Regions from separate parts of the Homo sapiens genome. Here region 2 is linked to region 1. The links are contacts of gene promoters, found by promoter capture Hi-C in blood cells and fetal thymus (Javierre and others, 2016). All regions are on one chromosome and are shown on one strand. Each heading gives the region's core, a stretch centred on a gene start or on the middle of the fragment in contact. The rest is flanking DNA. Distances are from core to core; before and after follow the strand shown.

The links. Contacts are between HindIII fragments. The CHiCAGO score rates a contact against its expected background, and 5 or more counts as called.
Region 2: a fragment that was not itself captured here is called in contact with the fragment with the promoter of LINC01548 in region 1 in 2 of 17 cell types (naive B cells and total B cells); the score reaches 5.8 in naive B cells.

The regions. Positions count from the first base shown.
Region 1 is chr21:33,167,452-33,172,767 of GRCh38, forward strand. It overlaps LINC01548 (long intergenic non-protein coding RNA 1548), which reads right to left and starts at 2,785. Exons shown (of 4, transcript NR_024102.1): 1 at 2,690-2,785; 2 at 2,245-2,382; 3 at 992-1,130. RefSeq lists an enhancer at 1,997-2,066. The HindIII fragment of the contact is 7,514 bases long and covers 48-5,316 here.
Region 2 is chr21:32,645,810-32,651,125 of GRCh38, forward strand. SYNJ1 (synaptojanin 1) reads right to left here. Exons shown (of 33, transcript NM_203446.3): 23 at 4,375-4,537; 24 at 584-793. Among named protein-coding and RNA genes, the nearest start is that of CFAP298-TCP10L, 36 kb to the left of the region's middle. The HindIII fragment of the contact is 1,556 bases long and covers 1,694-3,249 here.

The DNA.
Region 1 (5,316 bases), core at 1,535-4,034:
CTGCAATTCCATGGGACCACCGACCGTGACAAATGTGGCCAACAGAAAGCTTTTATTAATAGGAATTTAATTTAGAATTTAGTGCAAAAATGTATTTCTTGGCCAGGCATGGTGGCTCACACCTGTAGTCCCAGCACTTTGGGAGGCTAAGGTGGGCAGACCACTTGAGGTCAGGAGTTCAAAACCAGCCTGGGCAACAGGACAAAACCCCATCTCTACTAAAAATACAAAAAGTAGCCAGGCGTGGTGGTGCCTACCTGTAATACCAGCTACTTGGGAGGCTGAGGCAGGAGAATCGCTTGAACCCGGGAGGTGGAGGTTGCAGTGAGCTGAGATGGTGCCATTGCACTCCAGCCTGGGCAACAGAGCCTGACTCTGTCTCATATCTAGTTACCTCTAAATCTCCAAATACATATATAGATATATTTGGAGATATATCTATATCTATATCTACATATTTGGAGATTTAGAGTTAACTAGATGTAGTTTCTCTCCTGAAGGAACTCAGATAAACAGGGCATTGCTTCACAGAGGAATCAGGCCACAGTGGGGATAAGCAGAGCACCATAGCAGGGCACCAGCAATGGCCACAGATTATGCTCACATCAAGGCTTAAAGAACATGTGGACATCAGCCAGGCCAAAGAAGGTGGTGGCATCCAGGCAAGAGCATGACCAAAAGCACCCAGACATGAAACAGTGTGGCACGTGCACACAAACTGAAAGCAGCTTGGAGCCAACACGCTATTGAACAGGAGGAAGAAATGAAATATGAGGCAGGAAAGAGAGGGTGGGAGAGGCCAGCTGATGAGATGTTTCGTGTTCCATGCTATAGAGCTTGGAATTTATTCTGTAGGCAATGAGATGCTTCTTCTCTAGGACTTAAAGCAGAAAAGTGGCATAGATAGATTTTCATTTAATACAGACCATCCTGGCTAAAATGTGTCAATGGATTACAACAGAACAAGATTAGAGGCAAATCAACTAGGTACCTGCTGTGAGCAGTCCAGATGAGAGGTGGTGCAGCTGTGACTTAGGGAAGTGGTGCTGGATGGGAAGGAAGAGACTTGGGGAGTGTTCCAAGGGTGTCCGCGCTTGAGCTCCCCACAGAAGCAGGACCTGTGACAAGGGCTGATGTGCAGGCTGTTTAGGAATTGATGCCAAGTAACAGCAATGGGGGCTGGGAGGAGTGAAAGAGGGAGGTGGGCTTGGTGTGGTGGCTCACACCTGTAATCCCAGCACTTTGAGAGGCTAAGGCAGGAGAATCGCCTGAGGCCAGGAGGCCAAGACCAGCCTGGGCAACACAGGGAGACCGCATCTCAACAAAAAGTTTTAAAAATTAAAAATTTTAAAAATAGTGGGAGGAGAAAGAAGCATCCCAGTGTGGTGTTATTGGCCTGGTTACCTCCATGGGCTGCTGGGACTGGATCCCCTGGAGACCCCCTGAGGAAGCGTGTGAAAGATGCCTCAGAATTGTCCACCCAAGACATGGATGGAAGACAGATGAGCTCATCAGCTCCTGCCCCTATTGGTCAAAGTTTTCCCCCAAGGAAAGCCACCTCCCTTGAGCTTCCAAGTTTACACACAAGCCAGTATAGCTAAGCAAGTCCCCGCAGGCTTGGACAGAAAGCCTGCCACAGCAGATACCCACTGCCACAGCTGTCAGGTGACAGCTTGTTGCGGTTGTCAGAGCAACGCCCAGGAGCAAAAAAGGCGAGCCAGGTCAGGCGCAGTGGCAAACTCCTGCAATCCCAGCAATTTGGGAAGCCAAGGCAGGAGGATTGTTTGAGGCCAGGAGTTCAAGACCAGCTTGGGCAAGAAAGAGACCCCTGTCTCTACAAAACATAAAAAATTAGCCAGGCATGGTGGTGCGTGCCTGTGGTCCCAGCTACTCAGGAGGCTGAGGCAGGAGGATAGCTTGAGCCCAGGAGGTCAAGGCTGCAGTGAGCCATGGTCGTGCCAGCACACCCTAGCCTGAGTGATAGAGCGAGACCCTGTCTCTAAAAACTTAAAGAAAAAAACGGTGAGCCAAGAGCATGTGAAAGGAGCGTGAAAGGAGCATGAAAGGGAGGTGGGCAGAAGAAGCTGGTTGGATAGAGGAAGTGAAAGGAAGAGGCGCATTTGTACAGACAGCCGCCCTTCTGGACCGAGTAACCACGTGGAGAGTGGTTCTCCATCCACCCACATAGGACGCACAAGGAAAAGAAGAGGTTCCCAAAGATAAGGGATTTCATGGGGAAAATACCTCATCGAATGGACTGCGACCCTCAAGGGAAGATGTTCCATAAGCTCGGCGCGAGTCAGGCAGTAGGGAGAGGTCTTGAGATCACAGGTGAAGTGAAGGCTCCCAGGAAGGGTGATTGCAGGGCGAGGGCCTCCTGACCTGGAGACAGGGCCCCAAGGAACAGTCATACGAAGAGGGCAGAGGACAAATGAAGAGGGAGTGGACAGAAAGAGAAATGGGAGGAGAGCCATGTGCCAGGAGCCAAGTGATTTAAATGCAGGTGTAGTGCCCTGGAGAGTTCCATGTGTAAGAACAAGTAAATCATTGTTGCTTACCTCTCCCTTGAAAAAAAAAAAATACCCTGCTTCTTGTCCTAAGTTCCCAGGCTCTCTTTTTGCCTACTCCCTCCCCAGTTGCTGAGTCCAGTCAACCCTCCTGCTACAGTATCCCCTATAGCGCCATTCACCTGCCCTCCTCTGCTCCCTTGGCCAACATCTAGGTTCAGAACCTCATTGTCTCTCTTCTGGTCTGTCCTGCCTCCTCCTCCCTCTGCTGCTGTCCATCCAGGTGGATTTTCCTAAAGGGAAAAGGTGCACTTGAGGGCAAATTTCTCTTGGCCATGCACTTAGGAGGGGGATTTCTGGGTAAAGGGGTAAGTTCACTGCTTTTCTAATTCTCTACTTTTTCCTTATCCTCACCCATAAATCTTACAACCCCCTTGAAGTGCAATAACTTTATTTCTAGGACCTCTCAGAGCCTTTGCCTGTGCTGTTCCCACTTGCCGGGAATGCCTTTCCCTTCATCCCCAATAGTTCAAGCCCCACCTTTTCCTGAGCCCAGCTCAGATGCCACCCCCTCATCCAGGAAGGCCTCCTTGATACCTCCCTACCAGAATTAATCTCTCCTTCTCTTGTGGTCTGAAGACTCTTGGCTTTCTCCCCTGTCCTATTTTTGCTTGTTATCACTGACATTGCTTTACACGCTTTTTCTCCTCTGCTGGGAGCAAGGGCAGTTTCTATGTCACAATGCCCCACTATGCCCATTAAGCTACAGTGCACATGGTACCCATCCCGAGACCAACATTCTTTTTACACTTCTGTGCTTCTGACCTAGGAAAGTCTTACTTTTCATAGAGTGTCATAGCTGAGTTGGAAGCTCTTTTCTTAGAGCCTCTTAAAATAATGGCGTGCCTTATAGTCAATGATCTCTTACATTCCATTAAATACAGTAGGAGATGTTCAACCAATATTTGCTAAATTGGAGGAGTTAAAGTCATTTTGAGTAGGAGAGGGAATCTAGACCCACTATTTGGATTAGTACAGATTTTAGTGCAACTCAGGGCTTCTGCAGAGCCCCTCCAGCTTTCACCTGTCCACTTAGTTGATGATGAGCACGCCTGCGAACTCTTCACACTTTCCAAACCCACCAAGGCAGCTTCTCCCGTAAGGACATGTTTCTTACCTTCAAGACCCCTGTTGCCTCCAGCAGCAATCTCAGTAATGACGTCTACTTCTGTTTCCTGCTTCCTTCTCCCTGACTCCTGCTTCCTGGAGTCCCCTCAGATAAACCTCCTGTGCCCAAGACCTTGTCAGGGTCTGCATTTACGGGAACCCAACTAAAATTCCAGGACCACCATATAAAGGTCCCTTTGTCGGGGGCTGGGCCTGCTCTGGATACGGTAGGGAAGTGGCTCCAGGGTCTGCGGCCAGCGAGGAGAGGGTCCGGCAGTCACCAGTGGGAGCTGTTTCCTCCCGTATTCCTCCCACCTGTCCCTACCTGTCCTGCTGGCGGGGTAAAGAGTGGGATTTACCTCGTGACAGCTGCCTTACAGCCCCATGAAAAGGCACTTTGGGCTGCGGTTGGGGGGAGCGCATCTCCAGGGATTGCAGGGTAGGAGGACAAGAACTCTCCCTGGCCTGGGAGTCAGGGAAATGGAGAGATCAGAGCAACACAAGTGCTGGGAACAGATGGGGCTTCCTGGGCTCCAGCGCTAATTAACCAGCTCTGCAGCTCAAGGCCTGGGCCTCATGATAGTAGTCTGAGGGCCCCTGGGGTGCAGGGTTGAGCACACAAGGCTGCACACAGGCAGAGGGAGAGGGGTGATCCCGGGAACAGCCATCCCTCCATTCCCTAATCCAGAGGCCGCTGCCCTTCTTGGGCCAGAGAGCAGCAGCTTCTAATACAGATCTGGGCTTCTCACTCAGCAGGTGCCAGGGACCCAAGGAGACAAATGGAGGAAAAAGAGTGAGGAACTCCTGCCCCAAGGAGGCCGCTGCCACCGCCCACTGGCCGCATGCCAACTGGACCCCAGATGATAAGCGTGAAACTCCCAGAGGTTGAGATTGGGAGACTCTCCTCCTCCCTGCCTTTCATCTTGTGTCCCCTCTCTTGTCCCTTCCTCACTTGCAAGAACAGAACTCATTTGATGTGTTTCCGCTACCAAATCAGAGCAGTGAGTGCAGAGTTGGGGAGGAAATTGAAGGGAAACAATTCAAACTGTTTCACTGGAGTTGCAGGCGCTGATAAAGGCATCTTCGTTAGTTAATGAGTTAATTTCTGATAAACCTTAGATACCTAAAATAGGCTACATATTATATGGCCTAAATTGATTCCTAATTAACACTTGAAATGTAATCACAATCAAGGTGGCTTTTTAAATTGTGGGCAAGAGAAAGAAATACATCTCAGACACAAAACAACCTGTACTTAACACTGCCATAAAGTGGATCAGGCTGTATTTATATTTATGTTTGTATTGAGGCTGATTTTTCTGATTCTCTCCCAGTTTGGGTGTTTTATCTCTGAATCCCCAGTGCATAGCACAGTCCTGGCTTGTAGTAGGAATTAGCAAATATCTGTTGAATACATAAACCCTCTTTTCAAAATACAGGACCAGAGCATAGAAACAGAATAGCTAATGTACACTCTTTTGTTGAATGGGGCAAGCACAGCCCAGGTAGCAAGTAAATAGTGACAAAATAATTCTGGAATTATCTCCCATCCACAAGCCAGGATCCAAAATAAATGTCCTTTGTTCTACATTGTTATTGTTTTTTAAAAGTCATTTTCTTTTATCTTCTAAGATACTTATGG
Region 2 (5,316 bases), core at 1,222-3,721, 520 kb before region 1:
AAGAAGATCAGCTTCTAAGTAGCTGTTGACAGAAGGGAACAGTCCTTCATATATATGTGTAATGTTCTATAAAATGTGCACAATGGTGTAAAGAAAGGGCATGTATTTTCAGTATGAATAACAAAAGCAGTCTACTATTAAACTGCCCTTTGGTACCATGGCAGCAATAATGCTACCTCTGTGCTGACTTCTTACCTAGGCCTCAGGTGCTGAAAGCTAATTTACTAAGTGGCCCTATTGATATGCACAAAGTATTGTTTGAGTTAAGCCATTTTGTAGTCTGGCCAGTAGAGAGAAGAAAAAGCTCAAATAGTTAACGGGTTCATACCATAGAAAATCATCAGTTATAAGACATAGACAAACCTAACCACATAGAAAAAAGATTAAGAACAATTGTCATCTAGTGACAGTTATAGCAAGTTTCCTTTCCATTGAGAGCTTATCATCTACAAGTTTTCCTATTCTGTACCGGAGAAAACAGGGTGCACTTTATCACCTAGGTATGAAACTTAAACGATGACTCTCCAACATCAAGCACATTGGCCACAGGAAGCCATACAAAACTTTCAAATAAAATGCATACTCTGTGCACTGGGAGGCCCAGGAGTTCTTGACGGTGCTCGGCTTGGTCTGATGGGAAGGGAAGGTACAGGACCCTCTGATATTGTAGGTGACTGGCAGGGACTAGTTCGGGGTGAAGAGCTGGGGGAAGTACCAAGGCCGGAACTTGAAGATGGCTGGAGATGCTGAGGAAGAAGTTCCTCCACTTCAGCACTATAGTCATCAACATCACCTAAGGAAAAGCAGGCTTGATCAGAGATAACTCCATTTTAACTTGCTCAGAGATTTTTTTCACCTTAGGTTTTAAAAAGTTAAAATACACAAAACAAATATGAACATTATGTCATTGCAAACACACATGGATTAAGCATGAAGGCATGTATAAAACCACAATTAGTAGAAATGCTTGTTTCAGAAGATGTAAAGGTATCTATTGTCTCTGAGCAATAAGATGTCAGGTGACCAACCACTTGGAGCTGGGGTGACCCAATGGGCTTTCAATATGCCCCAGAGCAGCTTCTCCAGTGCAAGCCAACTCAAGTTTCCTGCTCTCCTTCCAAACCTGTCCACTGTGCTCTGTGGAACTGCCCCACTCCCTTGCCTAACCCAGGTCCAGCCTCAGAGTCAACAAGCTCTCAGGAGCCACACAGTCTTCCCCCAGAAGGCTCCTCCCTGCAACCCTCACCCCACAAAGACCCGCTTTGCTTTAATTAAGTAAACACTGGTTCTCCCCCAGGGTCTCCTCATCTCCACTTACTTCTGGGTAGGAAAGTGGGCACAAGGTAACCCTTGCAACCTAACTGCCATTCCAGAACATTAGTCTTCCAACCCTGAACAAAAAGTCCTACTGCTCTGAGGCTATGCCATCAGGAATTTATGTAACATCCTCTACCCCCACTTGCTACAGTCATCTCCAACGTCCATTCTTCCATTTCCTGAACCCACTCACTGAGGACTAAGCAGAGAGCAAGACTGTAAGTCAGGTCCCGCACCATCTTTCTGCGTGGCATCAAAGTCCATGTGGACAACTCGTTCAATAGCAAAATGCCTTGGTCCTATCCTTATGGACATTCGCCTTCACTCCTAACCCTCACCCCTCAGAACTGCACTCTTCTGAAATAATAAACTCAAAAGCTTCACTCTGACTTTGGCCTCCCAGCTTTTCAGTTCTCTCCCTTGGCTACTCCTTCTCTTTTGATTTCTTCAGAAGCCAGGGTTTGATCCCTCTAACTTTTACCTCCATCTGATTCTGCTTTCTTCTGTACCTACCTTCAGATTCTATGGTTCTTCATCTCAAACATTACCCTACTTCACTCTTCTTCCATTGCACGTGCTTGACATAACCCCATCCCTGCACTGATTCCCCTGTTTAATCTTTCTGTGATAACACTTGGATTGCTGACTGCCTCTGCTAAAGAAAACCACCCAGTCCTGACAACTGCAGTCACATTTGAAATTATGCTTTTCAGTCTCTTCTGGCCTAAAGTGCCTGGCAATTCCATGATTTGCTGGTTTGCTCTTCCCCTCACCCTTTGCTCTTCAGGAGCTTTACTGCAAAACTCCTTAACCCTCCTGAAACTGTGAGCTGTCCCACTCCTGCAGATCACTTCAACACTTCACAGAGAAGAGGGAAGTCTTAAGATGGGAACCCCTACTTCAACAGCCTGCCCCCAAGCTGGAGTCTCATTACATGGTTGTCACTTGGGTATCTGAGGATGGAACAAATGGGCCCCACCCAGCCTAATTTTCTCAGTGACACTGCTCTACTATTCTGCCTTGCCCTTCCCCCAAACCATCAGCCCTTTCTCCTCTACTTTTCCATTAGCACTGTGCATTCTCAAGCCTGTCCCATCCAAAACCACCACCCTAGGACCTCCAATCTTCCTAGAGCAATTGCCCTCTTCTCTTTCCCCCCAAACTTTCTTAAAGAGTTGTCTACAGACACTTTTCTCCACTTCTTCACCTTCCATCCATATCAATTTACCACTATCTGACTTCATCACTTCTGAGATCACTCTCATGAAATGTCAACAACAGCTTCCCTTCCTGTTATTAAATCAGAAGGACACATTTCTGTCCTCATTTCTTCTCATCTTTCTGTGTTACAAGACACCACTGACTACTCCCCTTCCATGCTCCACTTTCTTTCCTTGATTTTTAAGCCATGAATTTCTCTTGGCTCTTTGACATTTCTAGAAACAATTGCCATTGTTTCTTCTCATTTTCTTTTCACGGGCAGCCTTCTTCTGTCTATATTTAAACTCTGTGTTTCCACATACTCAATCCCAGGTCTGTATTTCTCCATATTCGATTCATTCTCTTCTGTCTCGTCATAATCCTATTGGCCAAAGTTATATTAACAAATGCCCATGCTTTGCAGGCTATTAGAGCTGCCTTGACTCCAGAGCTCTTTCCTGAGCACCAGACTCATGTTTGACTGACTCCATGAACATCTCAAATTCAACATATCCGAAACAAAATTCATCTTCCATCCCACACCTACTTCTCTCTCTGCATTTCTTTTCTTCATTTACTCCCTCACAAACATCCCTCCATAATCCATTTGGATCCTCTTTATCCCCACTTAGACTGTGCACATGCTTTCTTCTTGGATCACTCCTCTATAGCATTAATTCCATTCTCCCTGAGTCTTTGGATTCTCAACTTAAATTTCAATTCCTCTGGGAAAGCTTGCCCAATTTCCCAAATCCAGGTTAAGCAACTTTCCCATGAGCTACCACAAAACCATTCATTATCACATTTATGTCACTTTATTATAATTGCCTGCTTACTTACACGTAACACCCAATAAGCTATGAGTTCTGGAAAGGCAAGAACCACAGCTGTCGAATCTCCAGCACCCAGCTGTATCTGGCATAAAGGTACTACATAAATATGTGTGGACTGAGTAAACAAATGAACAGATAATGTGAAAATGAGATAACCTTGTAAGACGTTCAACTCTTAAATGTGGTACCTAGCTATACAGGGCATTACAATATTATTATAATCTAAGGTATGCATTTTAATGAAAAACTGGCTAGAATAGCATATTGTGTTAGAAAACAAATGCATTTAAAAATTTTTTCTTTTGATAATGTTGCCATCAAACAAATGCATTTTTAAATCATGTTTAAGGAAATTTTCGGCGTAATTACTTAAATTCATTTCTGTTCTTAGAATACCCTTTTGGAACTTCTACTTTTTTACCTCAACTTTAATTATTGGGACTAAACCATACACCAACAATACTAATTTGGGTATTTATCCAATAAGAATATAAATTAACATTTGTAAAGGTCTTAATATTTGAATGGAAGAATGGTAAATACATTTAAAGTATACGCAAAATAAACACAATATGATGTGAAATAAATTTGTTTTGTTTTGTTTTGTTTTGAGACAGCCTCGCTCTGTTGCCCAGGCTGGAGTGCAGTGGCACAATCTCGGCTCACTGCAACCTCTGCCTCCTGGGTTCATGCGATTCTCCTGCCTCAGCCTCCTGAGTAGCTGGGATTACAGGCATGCACCACCACGCCCAGCTAAATTTTGTACTTTTAGTAGAGACAGGGTTTCGCCATGTTGGACAGGCTGGTCTTGAACTCCTGGCCTCAGGCAATCCACCCTCCTCAGCCTCCCAAAGTGCTGTGATTGCAGGCATGAGCTGCCGCACCTGGCCAAAATACATTCTAATTAATAGTGCTATGTACGTCCCAAGAAGAAGAAGAAAGATGAACTTGGAAAATAAGACTTTACAGATTGGAAGAAAACATATCTAGAACTACAAGAAGTAAATGTGTTTAAGAAACAAACCTTCCATATCAAAATCTGCTGCAACCTCTGCATCTTCACCAAGCAGGGTAGAGCTTGTTGATGATGGCAATGCAATGCTAATTTTCTCTAAACTCATTTCTTCTTCCAAATTTTTGATCCAGTCTGGACTTTTTAAAGCAATAGTTATAGTCCGATTCAATAACTAGCGGAGTAAAAGAGATATAAAATAAAGATTAACATGAAAGCTAACTAATTTGGAATAAAGAGGCTGACTTCGTTAAACTATGCAATGGTATAGACAGTTAATTTAGTTAGACAATTCAGCTAACTAAAGAAATAGTTCTTTCACATATACTAAATTTCAAACTAGTTTAAAGGTTGTTCCCAGTTCTCCCTTTAAACACCTGTGGTGATAAATAAAGATCTTTTCTAGGATGCCCAGAGATGCAAGTTTCCTTTGCTACAACCACTATGTTTTCCTGGCCAGATGTAAATTCACCAACAACTCTGCTACATAACTTTATACTTTCTTAATTTTGATTCACAGATTAAGTAATTGTTCCCACGTGAAACAACTACAAAAGAGACAGCAGAAAATCTTTAAAATGCATTTCCTGTTCCTGTTCATTTGGTCTTTCCTAACTTGGCATATGGTCCTAAGAGCTGCTATATTGTCAGCTGCTAAGTGCTAACCTATACAGTTTTAGCATTTCAAATGTCAGAAGAATATTAAGAGAACTGAACACCATTTTAAATCTTCAACAAAAATTAATCATTCTAAAAACAGAATGACTTCTACCTGTGAAACTGGCACTCTGCCTTCTCTATAAATTTGGGTGACTTTTAGACTAAAGTATAATCTAAGACAACCAAGACATTATAATCAAATTATAGCAGATCGTGTCAATGTATTTAAAAAATACTCTCAAAAAAACTTGCTGATAACAGCAAGACTCTTTGGTCAAGGACAAAATGTGCACT